Linked DNA regions of Homo sapiens: regions 1 and 2 are each linked to region 3. The links are contacts of gene promoters, found by promoter capture Hi-C in blood cells and fetal thymus (Javierre and others, 2016). All regions are on one chromosome and are shown on one strand. The core of a region is centred on a gene start or on the middle of the fragment in contact, and the rest is flanking DNA. Distances in the headings are between cores, read along the strand shown.

What was found. Contacts are between HindIII fragments. The CHiCAGO score rates a contact against its expected background, and 5 or more counts as called.
Region 1: a contact is called between a fragment that was not itself captured here and the fragment with the promoter of NCAPH in region 3, in 1 of 17 cell types (naive CD8 T cells). The highest score is 5.4, in naive CD8 T cells.
Region 2: a contact is called between a fragment that was not itself captured here and the fragment with the promoter of NCAPH in region 3, in 6 of 17 cell types (M1 macrophages, M0 macrophages, total B cells and 3 more). The highest score is 7.9, in M1 macrophages.

The regions. Positions count from the first base shown.
Region 1 is chr2:96,578,589-96,581,597 of GRCh38, reverse strand. It overlaps a transcript of KANSL3 not described here. Among named protein-coding and RNA genes, the nearest start is that of ARID5A, 43 kb to the right of the region's middle. The HindIII fragment of the contact is 3,284 bases long and covers 84-3,009 here.
Region 2 is chr2:96,112,963-96,115,930 of GRCh38, reverse strand. ADRA2B (adrenoceptor alpha 2B) reads left to right here. Exons shown (of 1, transcript NM_000682.7): 1 at 1-2,968. The coding sequence ends at 1,134. Among named protein-coding and RNA genes, the nearest start is that of ADRA2B, 2.1 kb to the left of the region's middle. The HindIII fragment of the contact is 642 bases long and covers 1,319-1,960 here.
Region 3 is chr2:96,334,432-96,337,233 of GRCh38, reverse strand. NCAPH (non-SMC condensin I complex subunit H) reads right to left here and starts at 1,468. Exons shown (of 18, transcript NM_015341.5): 1 at 1,386-1,468. The coding sequence starts at 1,404. RefSeq lists enhancers at 312-1,153, 1,154-1,995 and a silencer at 1,074-1,393. The HindIII fragment of the contact is 5,174 bases long and covers 686-2,802 here.

The DNA.
Region 1 (3,009 bases), core at 476-2,975, 240 kb before region 3:
TATGAGGATGGGGTAAGGGAGCAAAAGATAAAAAGCAGCATGTTGAAGCACTCGTGGAAATATATTGGTAAATTTAAGAAGCTTATAATAGTATATGAAGATAAGAATGAATGCTAATATACCAGTAACCACCTTAAGAACAAAGATATAATCTAAACCTTTTTTTTTTTTTTTGAGATGGAGTCTTGCTCTGTCGCCCAGGCTGGAGTACAGTGGCATGATCTTGGCTCACTGCAACCTCCGCCTTCTGGGTTCAAGCGATTCTCCTGCCTCAGCCTCCTGAGTAGCAGGGATTACAGGCATGTGCCACCACGCCTGGCTAATTTTTGTATTTTTAGTAGAGATGGGGTTTCACCATGTTGGTCAGGCTGGTCTCGAGCTCCTTACCTTGTGATCTGCCTGCTTCGGCCTCCCGGAGTGCTGGGATTACAGGCGTGAGCCACCGTGCCCTGCCCCTTAGGTGATTCTTAAAGCGGGGAAACTAAAGCACTAGGCTTTGGGGCTCTCTTCTCAGGCATCCTCCTCAATTCCCAGAGGAGGGACCTGAGACTCAAAACAGAGAGTCTGCAGGGCTGCACAGCCGCTGGTTGAAGGCTGGGAAAGAGCCAGATGTTTTCTAGAAGGGCTCATTCTGTCTCACTGTCCTGGCCTAACAGGAGGTGGCAGCACTGGTTCTGAGTTCTTGCTACTGCTTCTCTGGATTGGCCTCACTCAGGGAGTGCAGTTATCTCATGGGCTGGAATCCTGGTTACTGGAATGCAGAGACAAAAGTCTTGTACCTCCTGTGGAGCCCACTGTAGGCATAGGAAACCTAACATTATTTGGCTCTATGATGTCTCTGTTTTGCAGGGATTCCACACATGACACTTTTTAAAATGCAAACTTTTATATTCAAATATAATGTATATGCATAAAAGTGCACCAATAGAAACTATACAGTATAATGAATTTTCACAAACAACACACACCTGTTTAACCAACATACAGGTAAGAAATAGAACATTACCACACTATCCTTCTGCTCCAGGACAACCTCTTTCCTGACTTCTACCACCATAGGTTGGTTTCGCCTATTTTTAAACTTAATAAAGGTGGAATTATGTATTTTTTGCATGTCTAGCTTCTTTCAACATTATGAAAGTATATAGATGTATTACATACAACATCTATTACATCCATGTTGTATGTAATAGTTCATTTGAGATGTTATATAACATTTATGAAATGTTATTTCATGTGATAGTTTGGGATTATTGCAAATAATACAACTATGTACATGCCTTTTGGTTAATACATGCACACATTTCTGTTGGAGGAATGGAGTTGTTGGGTTGCAGGATATGCTCATGTCAAGGAGCCTATGTTCCAGTAAAACGAGAATTGGAATTCCTCCTCTAGTGGCACTTCAGCTAAGGAGGAAGTTACTCTGGAAGCCATCAGCAGGCTGTAGGATAGGTTCTGTTCCTATTTAGGTGCCAAGAGCTACATATGCATATCAGTGTGCACATCTAAGTGAATTGACACACTTTCAAGTCTCTGCCACTCTGAGTGGACAGGTGTGTCTTTCAGAGTTTTATTAACAGATGCATTAGTTCACATCTTGGCAAGAAAAGATGGCAGACTCAAAGGGTATATTAGAATTGGTGAAGGGACAATTTAGACAGAGTGAAGGAAAACAACGGGGCTTTGAAGCTCCCAGGACACACACTCAACGCTTCAGCAAGGCCTCAGTGAGCTCATGAAGCAGGGAGGAGTGGGTAGGAGCAGCCTTCGCCACCAGGCGCCATCCCTGCAGCCTACATAAGCACACCTGTCCTCTCAGAGCCCCCTGGGCTCCCACAGGCCTTGCACCCATAGGCCTGAAGGAGCAGTGTTACTAGGTTCTGGGAGAGCTGTAGCCATGGAGAGGCTGCAGAGAGAGCTGGGTGAGTGGGAGGTTGGAAATAAATACTTCCATGTCTTCTCTTGCCTCTCATCACCTGCTGGAAGCCAGAGGATAATGCAGTTCTTATAGGTCAGCCTCCTGGGGTAGTTTCCTAGGGCGCAAAGCAGGGATGTGAGGGAGAAGGATGGATCTGGAGGGGCAACCAGAATATCTGACCTGATAGATGTATTTTTCAGCTGGAAAAGGCATACATATTGAGAGTAGAAATGTTGGCCAGTATAGAAAAGCATAAAGAAGAAAAAAAAGAATATCTATAATCTCATCAACCAGAAGCATTGTCTGTTTACATTTTAGTGTGTTTGTTTCTAGTCCTTTTCCATACATATTTTTCAGTAGTTGGAATCACACCATGCATGTAGTTTTTTATTAGTTTTTGTAATGAGTTGGCACCAGAATTCCTCTTGGGGAAGAGAGCTTTTGGTTTGGGGAAGGTTCCTTGAGAAACTGGAATAGATGAGATGGCTCTGACTGTAAGGTATTAGTAGCTCAAGCAAAGGATGGTTAATATCTCTGTAGGAGAGAGTGGATTTTTTTATATTTACTGGTGCTTTTGAAGAGAAGGTGGCTAGGGAAGCATCCTGATGGCAGGGTGGCCAAGGGGCAGGTTAAGAATGGCCTACAAAACTGATGACTTATTCTCCCATTCTTCATACCACTAGAATTACAGTGTTGTGGAAGACTTGGGGGAGATCCCTTTCTCAGGGAGGGATGGGCATGTAGCCCAGTCCTGGCTAGTGAATTTTAAGGGGACTGTGCCAGAGGCTACTGGGAAGGGTTTCCTCCTGATAAAAAGGGAGGGGCACGTGAGGAGAAATTCTCTGCCCTGCATTGACCTTTGTTTCCTGCCCCAACTTGCAACTTGAAGAGAAAGGCCAAGGATTAAGAATTAGGACTCATTAGGCCGGGCACGGTGGCTCACACCTGTAATCCCAGCACTTTGGGAGGCCGAGGCAGGCAGATCATGAGGTCATGAGATCGAGACCATCCTGGCTAACACGGTGAAATCTCGTCGGTACTAAAAATAGAAAAAAATTAGCCGGGCGTGGTGGCGGGTCCCTGTAGTC
Region 2 (2,968 bases), core at 390-2,889, 220 kb after region 3:
CTGCTGGGCTACTGGTACTTCCGGCGCACGTGGTGCGAGGTGTACCTGGCGCTCGACGTGCTCTTCTGCACCTCGTCCATCGTGCACCTGTGCGCCATCAGCCTGGACCGCTACTGGGCCGTGAGCCGCGCGCTGGAGTACAACTCCAAGCGCACCCCGCGCCGCATCAAGTGCATCATCCTCACTGTGTGGCTCATCGCCGCCGTCATCTCGCTGCCGCCCCTCATCTACAAGGGCGACCAGGGCCCCCAGCCGCGCGGGCGCCCCCAGTGCAAGCTCAACCAGGAGGCCTGGTACATCCTGGCCTCCAGCATCGGATCTTTCTTTGCTCCTTGCCTCATCATGATCCTTGTCTACCTGCGCATCTACCTGATCGCCAAACGCAGCAACCGCAGAGGTCCCAGGGCCAAGGGGGGGCCTGGGCAGGGTGAGTCCAAGCAGCCCCGACCCGACCATGGTGGGGCTTTGGCCTCAGCCAAACTGCCAGCCCTGGCCTCTGTGGCTTCTGCCAGAGAGGTCAACGGACACTCGAAGTCCACTGGGGAGAAGGAGGAGGGGGAGACCCCTGAAGATACTGGGACCCGGGCCTTGCCACCCAGTTGGGCTGCCCTTCCCAACTCAGGCCAGGGCCAGAAGGAGGGTGTTTGTGGGGCATCTCCAGAGGATGAAGCTGAAGAGGAGGAAGAGGAGGAGGAGGAGGAGGAAGAGTGTGAACCCCAGGCAGTGCCAGTGTCTCCGGCCTCAGCTTGCAGCCCCCCGCTGCAGCAGCCACAGGGCTCCCGGGTGCTGGCCACCCTACGTGGCCAGGTGCTCCTGGGCAGGGGCGTGGGTGCTATAGGTGGGCAGTGGTGGCGTCGACGGGCGCAGCTGACCCGGGAGAAGCGCTTCACCTTCGTGCTGGCTGTGGTCATTGGCGTTTTTGTGCTCTGCTGGTTCCCCTTCTTCTTCAGCTACAGCCTGGGAGCCATCTGCCCGAAGCACTGCAAGGTGCCCCATGGCCTCTTCCAGTTCTTCTTCTGGATCGGCTACTGCAACAGCTCACTGAACCCTGTTATCTACACCATCTTCAACCAGGACTTCCGCCGTGCCTTCCGGAGGATCCTGTGCCGCCCGTGGACCCAGACGGCCTGGTGAGCCCGCCTGCGCTGCCCCTGTGGGGTTGGTGCGGTGGCGCCGGGGTCACCCTGCTTCTTGCCCTGCTGTGTGTGGCTGCCTCCCCTGGGCTTTCTGCTCCCTGCCCAGATCCTGTAGGCCTCATCTTAGGAACCCCTTGGGAGGGGTGGGCAGGGGGGCTGCTAGCAAGGGTCCCAGTGAAGCTTCCCCTTGCCGGCTTAGCTGTGGGGGACCCCTTCTCCACCCTCTCCCTGAGCACAGGCCGATGGAGGTGGTTCAAATCCTCTGGAACATAGCCAAGACCAGGAGAAGAGAGAGCACTTTCTTCCCAGAGCCCCATGCTCTCCAGACCAATGTCTGGGCTTCCCTTTCTTGAGGACCTTGTGTTCCTGGCAGGTCACTTGCTTGTGGTGTTTTCGTTTCTTTTTCATCTCCCCCCCACCCACAAAGAGCACGGAGCCAGCCTTCCACTTTTCCCAGTGGGGCCTGCTGCTGAGGGGGAGGAAGAAACGAAGACTGATCACCCACGCTAGGCACTCGCGGTCCCTGGCAGGCGCTGGGATGGGGGCTTATGGGGTGGCATCGTCTCTGGGCCCTCCTTTCCCCCTTTGCCTGTTTTCGGATCTGTGGTTCCTTTGAAAGCCAGAACAATGGATCGGCTTCCTTACCCAGCACCCCTCCGGTAGGTGGGTGGCCACGTGGATGCCTCGCTGGGGCGGTCTTGGAGGCCTGGTCTCTGCCTCGACGGGAGATCCCCGATCACTGGCATTCACCCCCTGCAAAAATCGGGGCGACAATAGCTCACTGCCTACTTGCTGCAGGGAGATGAAAGGCTTTGCAGAAAGCTTTGAGCTCTGTGGGGGAACACACTAGAGAACCAAAAATGTGATTATATGGTGATATAAAAATCCCTTTCCTCTGTGTTTACCACCACCTGTCTTCCTGTAGACTTTTGTTCTGTCCCTGGGGTGTGTGAATTCCTACCCCGAACTGGAAGCCGGGAGTGGCAGACAGAATCACTATTTCAAGTTAAAGGATCTCTTTGAGAATGTGTTCTTCTGGCTGCAAAGGTCTGAGTTATTACGCTACATGACAACGTTTCGACATTTCACCGGCAACACCAAGAGGGTTTTTAGTGGCTTGGGTCTCCCCAGTGGGGGATAAGTCTTTTGTCATCAAGGAGGCAAATTGTCTCCCCAAGACAGCTCAAAATATCCACACCTCGGCAACAGTCTAAGATGAGAGCCTGTGACAGGTGGCAGCGCCCCCAGGTGGGGTACTGGCATCAGAGCCTGGTGCGCCCCTAGGGGAGCCTCCCACTGGAGTGCCCGGCCAGGTCTCCAAGCCCCAAATGAGTCCTTGTGAACCACAACTGATCCCCCCAGGTGGGTGCTTGTGGACTGCCTCGGACCCAGCCACGCTGCTCCCCGCAATGCTGATGGGGCTGTGCATTGAGGACCCCTGCTTCCTGGTTCTCAGTCCCACCCCAAAACCTGGCACCCAGAACAGTTGGAAGTGTGGAAAGGAGGTTTATCGGCCTTCCCTTGGAGAGGGCCTGGCTTCAACATTGGGCCAGTAGGCATCTTAGCTTGGCAGGTGTCGGGGGAATGGGCCAGATGGACCTGCTAGATTTGGAAGGGCACCGAGGGAGTTTTCTGGGTGTAGAGAGAATGGAGGGGACCAAAAAGAGTCCTTCCTGGGGTGTGGGAGGCTTCCCAGCTTGGTCCTCAGTGGGTTGTTGAGGCCAGAGTATCGCCCTGGGATGTGGTGGGGAGCTGGGCCAGGAGAGGGACTGACTGTGACCCTCTGCTGGCCGGTCTTGTGTGCGCCCCATGGGACCCCCAGTGTTCTTGCC
Region 3 (2,802 bases), core at 219-2,718:
GAGAAACTAAACTTGGAATTAGAGGCATGCTTTAATTCTCCAAATCTTCTTTCCGTGGTTTCTCTCCTTGCCTTTGATATTATGCATCCATTCATTCAACCGATGGTTACTGAGCTCAAAGACACTTCCTATGTCTACTTCCTCATTTCCCACTCATTTTTCAACCCACTCTGGTCTGGTTCCTATTCCAACTTCATGAGAACTATCTTTTCGTGATCATCTATAACTTCCATGTTGCCTAAACCCTATGGTCATTTTCTGGCCTTTCTCTTGGAATCCAGCAGCATTTGAAACAGCTGACAGTCCCTTCCTTGTTGAAACACTCTTGGCTTCTTCCTATACCACTGTCTTTTGAGTTTTTCCAGCTCATCCTTCTCTATCCAGCTTCTAAACGTTGGTCCTAGATGTGCAGGGCCTTCCTAGTGTTCTCACCTGTTCCCATGGTTTTATGGTCTAATGGTCTATATGATAATGGTATCCAAATTTATTTCTCAATCCATGGGTCACTTCCCTGAGTGGTCCATATAACTCCCCTGAGAGCCAAATTCTCACCTAAGTGATTATAGATCCCTTCACCTGAGTCTCTCCCGTAAGTCACACATACCATGTCCAAAATGTAACTCAATTTCCAAATCTCTTACCCAAGGCCTCCAGACCCTGCCTACGTGTCAGGCCTCACTAAGCTTGGTCACAATGTTCTGGTCAGGTCCTAGGCCAGGCCAGGCTCTTCCCTGCCTCATTTTTGTACTTGCTCCTTCTGCCTGAAACACGTTCCCTAGTATCTGCCTAAAGATCTTCCCTGAACCCCTGGCGGAGCCACCCCTACTCTGCTATACTCAATCACAGCACTCAGCCTCATGTGTAATTATTTCTTTTGTTTACTGTCTGTCTCCCCAACTCCAACAGTATAGAGATATTATCAATTTTGTTCGCCCAACGGGAGAGCTCAGTACTTTTGAATAGATGCAAAAATAAATGCATGCATGCTAAGCATACAACGGTAACCACATCGCTTCCAAAGCCCTGAAAATAACGTCTATTCCAGGAAAACCACCATTTTAATGGAGAGACACCGAGCACGCTTTAGGAGCCCAAGGAGGAGGCCGCCCCACCGCCCGCCCGGGAACTGAGGAGTGTGAGGCAGGGCCCGCGCGCTCTCCGACTCCGGCCGAAGCCGCTTTCTGATTGGCTGAGCGCACAAGGTCCGCCCGCCCCGCGCCGGCCCTCCCCTCCCCCCGCACCGGCCTCTGCTGTCAGCCGCAGGGCCAAGACCCGAGCTGAGCATATCCTCTCTCCCCGCCCAGGCCAGCCCGCCAGCCCTGCCCGCCCGAAGTACTGCTTCGCTAGGGGCCCTTCCCGCCGCGCCTCCCGACCGCCCGGCTCACCTGGGCCGGGAGGTCCCATCTTTCCTTGGCGTCTCCTGAGCTGGTTTTAAATCGCGCGCGTCGAGACGCCTGAGCGCCGTAACGGCCGCGTGACGTCGCCGGCGGGCCGGGCCAGCAGCGCGCCTGCGCAGACCACCTCGGGCCTCCGCGGGCGGCGTCAGAGTGAGTTTTGGGTTGAGGACCCCGTCTGATTGGGCTTCTTGGGGTCGGTGGACCCCCTGAAATAGTATGAAAACCCCCTCCTTCGAGGACTAGGTGCAGGACTGGGCTTGGGAACCCAGCGTCGAGCAGGGTGAGCAAGGCCCGTCTTTCGTGGAATTTACTTTCTTTTTTTTTTTTTTTTGGGACGAAGTCTAGCTCTTGTCCCCCAGACTGGAGTGCAGTGGCGCGATCTTGGCTCACTGCAACCTCCGCCTCCTGGGTTAAAGCGATTCTCCTGCCTCAGCCTCCCGAGTAGCTGGGATTACAGGCGCCTGCCACCACGCCTGGCCAATTTTTGTGTTTTTAGTAGAGACGGGGTTTCACCATGTTGGCCAGGCTGGTCTCGAACTCCTGACCTCAGGTGATCCGCCCACCTCGGCCTCCCGAAGTGCTGGGATTACAGGCGTGAGCCACCGCGCTCAGCCCGTGGAATTTACTTTATAATGGGGAGGCAGATGATCGAGAAAACGAGGTTTATTTCCCTTAGAGATCTGTGCTGTGTGGGCAGCAAAACGCTGAAAACCTCCGGGAAGAGGGACGGAGGGGAGCGGGAGCCTACGTGGGAATGAGGAGCGGTCCAGGTGGGGAAGAACTGATGCAGAAATGCTATGTATACATTAAATATAGTACAAAATGTACATTTAATATAGTGTAAGATGAAGGCCATCGTTTTATTCAGATTCTTGTGAATAGCTTCCTGTGAACACCCCCCACCCTTCAAAAAATAAATAAAGGTCGAAAAAGCGAAATAAGCATAAAATGCCATCTGTCCCCTCAGTTTCATCTAACCCTAAGGATTGAATTATGGGAGTAAAGGCCAGGGTGATTCCCTGGAATATCCCCAGCACATCCTAGAATTTCTTGTAACTCTCATATCTGGCATCTTTTACAGTGTTTCTCTTCAAGGGCACTGTTGGCATTCAGGGTGAAACAATCCTTGGCATGATAGGATGTTTGCCCTCTTTGTGGGCTCTTAAGCCCCCGTAACATCATTTGCCCACTAAATGCCATCAGTGCTGTCGCTCATTTTGGCAATCAAAAAGTGCCACCCTTTGTTGAAAACCACTTTTTTTTTTTTTTTTTTTGAGACAGAGTCTTGCTTTGTTGCCCAGGCTGGAGTGCAATGGCACGATCTCAGCTCACTGCAACCTCCACCTCCCAAGTTCAAGCGATTCTCCTGCCTCAGCCTCCTGAATAGCTGGGATTACAGGCGCCC